Linked DNA regions of Homo sapiens: all the other regions are linked to region 2. Evidence: promoter capture Hi-C in 16 types of primary human blood cells and fetal thymus (Javierre and others, 2016). All regions are on one chromosome and are shown on one strand. The core of a region is centred on a gene start or on the middle of the fragment in contact, and the rest is flanking DNA. Distances in the headings are between cores, read along the strand shown. Region 1 holds the start of B3GNT5 (UDP-GlcNAc:betaGal beta-1,3-N-acetylglucosaminyltransferase 5). Region 2 holds the start of KLHL6-AS1 (KLHL6 antisense RNA 1). Region 3 holds the start of ABCC5-AS1 (ABCC5 antisense RNA 1).

Region 1 (2,700 bases), core at 153-2,652, 300 kb before region 2:
ATCCCAGAGTGGGCATTCTGGACTACTTGACCTTGCCTATCTCTCCTTCACACCCTCTCATCTCTCCCTCCTACCACCAAAAAACTTGCATCGTATTTCCAATCTCCAGACATACTTTTGAAACCATTTATCTATCTGGTGTGTTTATCTGTATCTAGTATGATGTGAATATGTGATTTGTATGTGTGTCTACCACTGTTTTGGTCAGTTTGTATTTCTCGTGGGTACAGTTCTATGTGCTCATGTATGTGGAACATATGTATACTGACACATGGACCTAGCTCCAAATGATCTGAAAGGAATATAATTGTAATTGAATATTTGCACAGATATACAACATACACATGTGATGGCTGGGGGAAATGCATGTGGGATTTCAGTCAGCATTTTATTAGAGAAGGTATGTCATTAGTGCTGTATTAACAATGAATCAGCTTATTTGTGGGTCACTGTCAATGACTCCTTTGCAAATCACACATGTAAATATTTCTGTCTGTGGTCTGATGAACATGCAGTGCCACAGTCTGGGAGATGCTGAGCCATGCCCTGTGTAGGCAGCATATGAAAAGAACTGCATGATTTAAAAGATGCTGACCAGCTTAAGGAAAGCAATTTAAAAACTTCCTAAAAATCTAGTTTGAATGAACAACAGTTTTCATTTTGTGTGTGTGTTTTTTCTTTTAGAGATGGGGTCTTGCTATGTTGGCCACGCTGGTCTCTAACTCCTGGGATCAAGCAATCCTCCTGCGGCTCAGCCTCCCAAAGTGATGGGATTACAGGTGTGAGCCACCGTGTCTGCTGGCCCCACTGTTTTAAACCCTGATTCGACAATCATACATTTAACTCATTACCTGTCTTGTTCCTTTTACGACAAACTCAAAGCTTTTATTTTACTAAAGTATTTGGGTTAATCTTTTGCTTTTCTGTCATGTTCTGAAATATGTACAATAACAGAATCGCTCAAAATATTATCTCCGTTAAATGTTTTGTGGCTTTAGGGAGAGGTCTAACAACATGCGGGAAACAAGAAATCAAGCGCATCCAGGATTCATTTATAATCTCTCTCGTTGAGTAGAAGTCCGCATCTCTCGATATTGTCTGGTTACCTGCATGAAGTATTCTAAAGGAGGAAAATAGCTCAAAGAGGACATTCATGTGCACTCTGGCTTCCAGTTGGCCATTTGAGTAAGTGATCGCAATTAACTGACGAGCGGCAGGGAAACACTTCCTGGAATTCTCATCTACAGACAAGAACAAACTGGGGCGGGGCCCATCACCTTCACCTACGCGCCGGGAGGGTGGCGGCTGGCGGGCGGGGCCGGGCTCGGGCCGTGACGCCGAGAGTGCGGGGCGCGCGGCTGGGAGCCTCGCGCCCCCGCCCGGGCCCGCCCCCATCCCGCCCGCATACAGCCCGCATCCCGCCGGGGAAGCGAGCCCAGTCCAGCGCTGCCCGTCCAGTCCTCGCCCAAGATTTAAAGCCCGCAAGTTTTGTTCTTGAGACCAGCGACTTTAGCTCCGATGCGGGAAGGAAAGCCGACCTCCGATTTGGACATTTAAAGAGCTGGGCTTGAACTTCGTGAGTTTCGCTCTAAACTGCCCTTGAAATGAAGCTGGACTTGGAGGTAAAGTCACTGGGAAGCTGGCCTGGGGCGGGGTTTCCCCCTCTTCTCGTATTTTAGAAACGGACAGCGGCAGTGCAGCCCTAGTTTGCTGTAAGTTTCCTTACTTTGTTACTGAGGCCCCCAGAGCTCCACGCATAAGTGGTGTGACCAGAAACCTTTTAACAAGACCCGCCTGAGCCTGCGTTAGAGCTCCCGCTCGGAAAGTAAAAGACCATCCTAATCCGCGGCGCTGCGGAACCGGTGTCCCGTGTGGGAGGAACCGCGGCGTTCCCTGGGCGTAGGGCCCGCGAGGCCAGCACAGTCCGCCTCTTGGCGGAGCGCCCTGGGCCGGTGGTTCCGCGCGGAGTTAGTCTGTGGTCAGTTACGTGGTGAAAACACGGCTGTGCCGCGGCCGCATCTTTCCGCGGCCGAGGCCTCTCTGGGTGGGAGTGTTGGCTTCCTTTCCGGATCGCTAAATGGGGAAAGTTCTGGCCGCTCGGCGGGATACGTCTCCAGGCCACGGATGGTTCGTTCTCCGTGCCGCGGCCCCGAGCTGGGCTCCCTGGGTCTCCAGCGCGGGCTCCCGGCATTGGGGGCTGCGGGCCGGCCCCTCCGCCCCGCCCCCGCCCCGCCGCGCCTCCTCGGCCGAGCGGCTCGCGGTCTCCGGCGCGGGAGGCTCCGAGTCTGCCCACTCCGGGCCGAGCGAGGTCTCTGGAGGAGAAGAGTGGCGAGGAGGTGAGGGCACGCCGGCCCTCGCCCGGCGGGTGGCGCCAGGACTTCAGGTGGGAACGCGCGCTTGGGCCGGGGGCGCGTGGCTGGCGTGGACACCGGATCGGGGCCCGCCGCCCTGGCCCGGACCGCGCACGGCCCAGCGCCGGGAAGTCGGGAAGCCGGGGAGGCCTCTCCCACCGCGGGCCCCGGCAGCCCGCCCTCTGAAAGCGCGGCGGAGAAGGAGGCTCGTCCCCTCCCCGGAACGCCTTTGTTCCCTCCGGCCTGCCCGCGCGGGTGGCCAGCGGCTGGGACCCAGGCCGGGCCGCCGCCCAGGTGCGGCAGGTAGGCTCGGGGGCCGGGCAGCTCCGGTTGGGGCGGCTTCCCGGGG
Region 2 (2,700 bases), core at 97-2,596:
GGGGCTTTCTGATAATGTTAACAGTTTTCATTTTGGTGTTATTTGTCTACCTTTTCTCACATGCATATCTTTCCATAGTTTACATGCAATTTTGCATCTTGCTTTGCCCCCTGTTTTCATTATAATATTTTTCCTACGGTGCTCCATGCTTTTCATAATGACTATTTATTATATTGCTACCAATTTCAACAGAGGCATAATATGAAAATCATTCTCTCACTGTGGACATTTAGGTTGCTTCCAGTATTTTGTTTTTATACGTGACGTGGTAATCTTTGCATTAAGCATTTTTTCCCAGTTTGGAATATGGACGGCCTACATTTTTTCAGGCACTTTGCTGGATTCTTTTTATTTCATTCAGTCTTCATAATATCAAGTAGATAGCATGGTGTCCATTTCATCCTTGGGGGAGCTCACTTTGATGGGAAGAGTGGTTTCCCCATGATGTCTAAACTGAAAACAGGCCTCTTCACAGAGAACAGAAATGTGGCTAACAGGTCATTTCCTATGACCCCTCAGCTCCCCAAGACTCTTTTGCTAGTGTAGGCTACATAAGCTGAAAATGAGGAGGAAATGTAAAAATCAGAGCCTCCTTGTGCTCATACACACATGCACAGGCAGGATACTGTTGGAACATTCATTCCAGTTTATGTCTGGGGGCTGAGCTGACAGACCCCCATAGCAGCAAGGACCCAGCATGCCTTAGGACATCAGTCTGGATCAAAGGGTTAAAAAAGAGACAAGGAAGCAGGGTCAGGGTGTGCAAGGTGAAAAGACAGTGCGCTCTGAAAATATATGGGACCTCACTGTGGCTAGAACCAGAAACTGGTTCTCACCATTTGGGAAGCCCAGCTCACTGCAAAATATGGCACACTCTGTAAGTGACAGTGACCTGTGAGGGCAGCCCTGCTGTGATTCCCAGGGTTGGCAGAGGGAGGGGAGTCCTAGTGATGAGGGGAGGGGTTATCAGGCTTTTCTCTGCCCTGTCTCATGACTGGCCCTTCCTTCATGCATAGAAAAGCTTCCAGGCTGAGGCTGAGTCATTAGCAATCTCCTTTGTTGATGCTGCTGCCTGGAATCCTTGTCTGGATTCCTGTCTCACTCCTGTCTTGTACCGCAGTCTCTAGGTCTGGTTCCTTGAGGCTATGTTGAGAGGACTTTACCCGCCAGCTACAAAAATCAGGCATAAGGCCAGGAATGGGAAGGTTATTGTGAGCACAATCTATGCACTTGTTAATCATTATTACATATTAACCAATTACTGCATGGCAGAAAAGTGGGGCAAGAGACTACTCTTAAGCCACATGTAGATGTTGTAATCCTGAGCTTTGTCTCCATAATGGGGTAAGATGTCAGAAAAGAGTCAGAAAGCCCAGGTGATAGAATAAGTGCCAAGAACATATACACCATGGAATACTGTGCAGCCATAAAAAGGAATGAGTTCATGTCCTTTGCAGGGACATGGATGAAGCTGGAAACCATCATTCTCAGCAAACTAACACAGCAACAGAAAACCAAACACCGCATGTTCTCACTCATAAGTGGGAGTTGAACAATGAGAACACATGGACACAGGTAGGGGAACAACACAACCCGTGGCCTGTCGGCGGGTGGGGGACAAGGGGAGGGAGAGCATTAGGAAAAATACTTAATGCATTCAGGGCCTAAAACCTAGATGATGGGTTGATAGGTGCAGCAAACCACCATGGCACGTGTATACCTATGTAACAAACCCGCGCATTCTGCACATGTATCCCAGAACTTAAAGTAAAATTTAAACAAATTTTAAAAAAGAGAATAAGTGCCAAGAAAAACAAGAATGAGTTAAGGCCATGTAGGTCTGTATTAAAAATCTGGCTAACAGCAAATGTGTTGAGGATTGCTGCTGCCACAGTGGGTACACTTGAGAACTCAAGTGAAGCCAATGATTGTAACACCAGGGTCAGGCCCTATATTTTCCACTTTTAATATTTTCCAATATTGTGGATCAGAACCAATATGATAGTAAATATTTCAGCATTATATATCTATAATCCCTTATCTGTAGTTTCAAAATTCCCAAAGTGCTGATAAATGTAAAGTTTTTTGTAACTTATTTCATGGCTAAATCCAACTTGAATGGCACTCGTCAGGTCGGGACACCTGAGTCTTGCTCTGTTGCCCCGGCTGGAGTGCAGTGGCATGATCTTGGCTCACTGCAACCTCCGCCTCCCAGATTCAAGCAATTCTCCTGCTTCAGCCTCCCGAGTAGCTGGGACTACAGGCATGTGCCACCACGCCCAGCTAATTTTTTGTATTTTTAGTAGAGATGGGGTTTCACCATGTTAGTGCTTGACTCTTAAATAGGAACAGATATCCAAAGACTACCAGATATTTAAGTATAGCCTCTAAAATAAAAGACAGAGGCCAGGTGTGGTGGCTCATGCTTGTAATCCTAGCACTTTGGGAGGCCGGGTCAGGAGGATCCCTTGAGCCCAGGAGTTTGAAACTATCTGGGCAACATAGGGAGACCTTGTCTCTAGGAAATAAATAAATACATACATAAAATAGAATAAAAGAGACAAAAACAAAGAGAAAAATACAGTGAAAACAAACAGTAAAAAACAAACAAAAACAGAAGAGTGGTTTTTTAAAAAATATAAACCTCAAAGAGATTAAGTGAAAATATGACCTATACAAAACAAGAACAGGATGTTATAA
Region 3 (2,700 bases), core at 49-2,548, 460 kb after region 2:
CAGCACACTGGGCCAGAGACAGGCAACAGAGCCATCATGCTTCAAAGAGGAGCCAAGTGCTGTATTCTGAGCCACCGAATTCCAGAAAGAACATCCTTGGGAAGCTCACCCAGCCCCAGCATAGTCTGCCTAGTAAGTGTCTCTCCTGGGCCTCACCTACAGAGAGGTGAGGCTAAATGGGGACTGGGCAAGACGGCCTTTGAGGTTCCATCCATCTTTTAAAGTACACATGTCAGTCTTGCTTTCTACCTCCATGAGCAGGCTTTGGTAAGTGGAAGTTCTCATCTGATATCTAGTAACAATTGATTCTTTGAACAGCTAATTCATAAAATAATCTTAAATAGTTAAAACATATATAACATCTAATTATCTAAATAGGCTAACTCCTTAAAAGGGGGGCAGGGAGGAAAAGGATAAATTTAATTCTGCTCATTAGTGGACTTCAGTGCACCAAATTAACTTCACATTAGTCTGTGAGTTTAATAATGACAGGTTTAACCATTGCAAAGCCTTCTGGAGTCCCTGTTTCTTTGCGTTGACCTTTTTATTTTTGACTAAAAGAGAGGGAAAAACGGTAAGACATTAAAAAAAGCATGAACAGGGAGGGGGGAGGGATAGCATTAGGAGATATACCTAATGTAAATGACGAGTTAATGGGTGCAGCCCACCACCATGGCACACGTATACATATGTAACAAACCTGCACGTTGTGTACATGTACCCTAGAACTTAAAGTATAATAATAACTAAAAAAAAGAAAGCATTAACGGAAACCCACCTAACTGTGGAAACAATATTTCATTGAAAAAGTTTTCATTAACCATTTGTAACTTCCAAGTTATCTTAACCAAATAAAGATTTAGGTACTTAAAAAAAAAAAAAACAGGAAGCTAATTCCAACACTTTTCTTCCCCTTTGACAGAAAGTTCCTTTAACTCATGCCAACAGGCTATATTTATTTCCCTTAAGCAGCACTTCCTAGGAAAGCCGCGGCAGTCTTGCAGCAAACGGCATAAGAGAGCTGATGATCCCGGCAGCAGCCCAACCTCAAGAGCCCCAGCGAGCTGTCAATGCAGTTACCAAGCATGAGAGCCACCTGGGCTCCACACCAATCGCACACTGTTGTTACCTCAGCCGGAGATCTCTGGGCTGCTATTGGAGACCAACACCTGGCACCAGACCAGATACGGTGTCACACCCAGCAGCGCCTAAGAGACTACTGTGCCTCATAAAGCTTTATGGATGCCTACAGGGAGAGAAGAAAAAAAAAAAAAAAAAAAGGCAGGTATTCTTACTTATCTTAACCCTGTCCAGAAAATCTGCTGAGTCACCGAGTATCAATCAAGAGAAAAATAATGCAGAGCTGCAAAATGCTAATCTCCTTCCTCCTGCTCTCCTTCCTAACAGCAAGCCGACTCACAGGTAATACTCTTGACTTGGAAAACACAAGGGCATAGACAAATTCACACGTCCTTAGTCTGTAAAGAAAAGCTTTCAGGAGCAAACTCTAAAAGTACAATGTACTAGACAAAACTATTTTATGAAAACAATGGCTGTCTCTGGGTAGAGGAATTAAGGGTGGTTACTTTTTTTCTACAACTTTACACACTTTGTACATTTTCTATAATGAGCCCATATTTCTTTCCTAACAATACATCTTCGAATCATTTCTGGTAAGAGATTAGACCCACATCTTTGATCCCTAAGATACAACTTGAGCTCACCAAAATATTTCAAAGCATTAATTATGAAAACTCCAACCAAGATTAAAGGGTCAGCCTACCACAGAACTAAGGAAATACTAAGTAAGAGCCCTGGATTTTATGAATACTTGCTTTGTTACCTTTCCTAGACACAGGATATTCTAATTTGGTAGGAAGAAAATCCCACCAATGACACACTTTTGAGAGAAGGGGAAAAAATAACTAAAGTTCATGTGCCAGTAATAATGGTACATGAACTTTAGTTTACTTCTGCTTTTTTTTTTTTTTTTTTTTTTTTGAGACAGAGTCTTGCTGTTCCCCAGGCTGGAGTGCAGTGGTGCGATCTCGGCTCACTGCAAACTCTGGCTCCCGGGTTCAAGCGATTCTCCTGCCTCAGTCTCCCGAGTAGCTGGGACTACAGGTGCATGCCACCATGCCCAGCTAATTTTTTGTATTTTTAGTAGAGGCAGGGTTTCACCATGTTAGCCAGGATGGTCTCAATCTCCTGACCTTGTGATCTGCCCGCCTCGGCCTCCCAAAGTGCTGAGATTACAGGCGTGAGCCACCACGCCCGGCCCACTTCTGCTTATTTTTCCATTCTTCCTTCTTTCCCAGATTAGACATGCTAATGAAAAACAAGGCACCCTTACCTTTGCCTGAGAGCACTAAGAAAACAAACCACCACCACAATAAAATAAAGCTCATAAAAGCATCTGACAAGCTTTGTCTTGCTTTTGCTTAAATATTAATTTAAAGCAATTAAAATCCAAACTCCTTGGCTTATTATTCAAGAACACACATGCCCAGGCGCAGTGGCTCACACCTGTAATCCCAGCACTTTGAGAGGCTGAGGCGGAGGGATCACCTGAGGTCAGGAGTTCAAGACCAGCCTGGCTAACATGGTGAAACCCCATCTCTACTAAAAATACAAACAATTAGCTGGGTGTGGTTGCATGTGCCTGTAATCCCAGCTACTTGGGAGACTGAGAGAGGAGAA

What was found. The method cuts DNA at HindIII sites, captures the fragments that hold promoters and counts their contacts. A CHiCAGO score of 5 or more calls a contact.
Region 1: the fragment with the promoter of B3GNT5 here is called in contact with the fragment with the promoter of KLHL6-AS1 in region 2 in 2 of 17 cell types (M2 macrophages and activated CD4 T cells); the score reaches 6.6 in M2 macrophages.
Region 3: a contact is called between the fragment with the promoter of ABCC5-AS1 here and the fragment with the promoter of KLHL6-AS1 in region 2, in 6 of 17 cell types (M0 macrophages, erythroblasts, megakaryocytes and 3 more). The highest score is 8.6, in M0 macrophages.

The regions. Positions count from the first base shown.
Region 1 is chr3:183,251,851-183,254,550 of GRCh38, forward strand. B3GNT5 (UDP-GlcNAc:betaGal beta-1,3-N-acetylglucosaminyltransferase 5) reads left to right here and starts at 1,403. Exons shown (of 2, transcript NM_032047.5): 1 at 1,403-1,622. All of the region lies in intron 15 of MCF2L2 (MCF.2 cell line derived transforming sequence-like 2), which reads right to left. LOC124906310 (a long non-coding RNA gene) reads left to right here. Exons shown (of 3, transcript XR_007096189.1): 3 at 685-705. The HindIII fragment of the contact is 12,746 bases long and covers 881-2,700 here.
Region 2 is chr3:183,547,389-183,550,088 of GRCh38, forward strand. KLHL6-AS1 (KLHL6 antisense RNA 1) reads left to right here and starts at 1,347. Exons shown (of 2, transcript NR_046687.1): 1 at 1,347-1,575. All of the region lies in intron 1 of KLHL6 (kelch like family member 6), which reads right to left. The HindIII fragment of the contact is 1,687 bases long and covers 1,020-2,700 here.
Region 3 is chr3:184,005,040-184,007,739 of GRCh38, forward strand. It overlaps ABCC5-AS1 (ABCC5 antisense RNA 1), which reads left to right and starts at 1,299. Exons shown (of 3, transcript NR_046570.1): 1 at 1,299-1,422. The region is part of intron 2 of ABCC5 (ATP binding cassette subfamily C member 5); the gene reads right to left. RefSeq lists a silencer at 1,978-2,027. The HindIII fragment of the contact is 257 bases long and covers 1,233-1,489 here.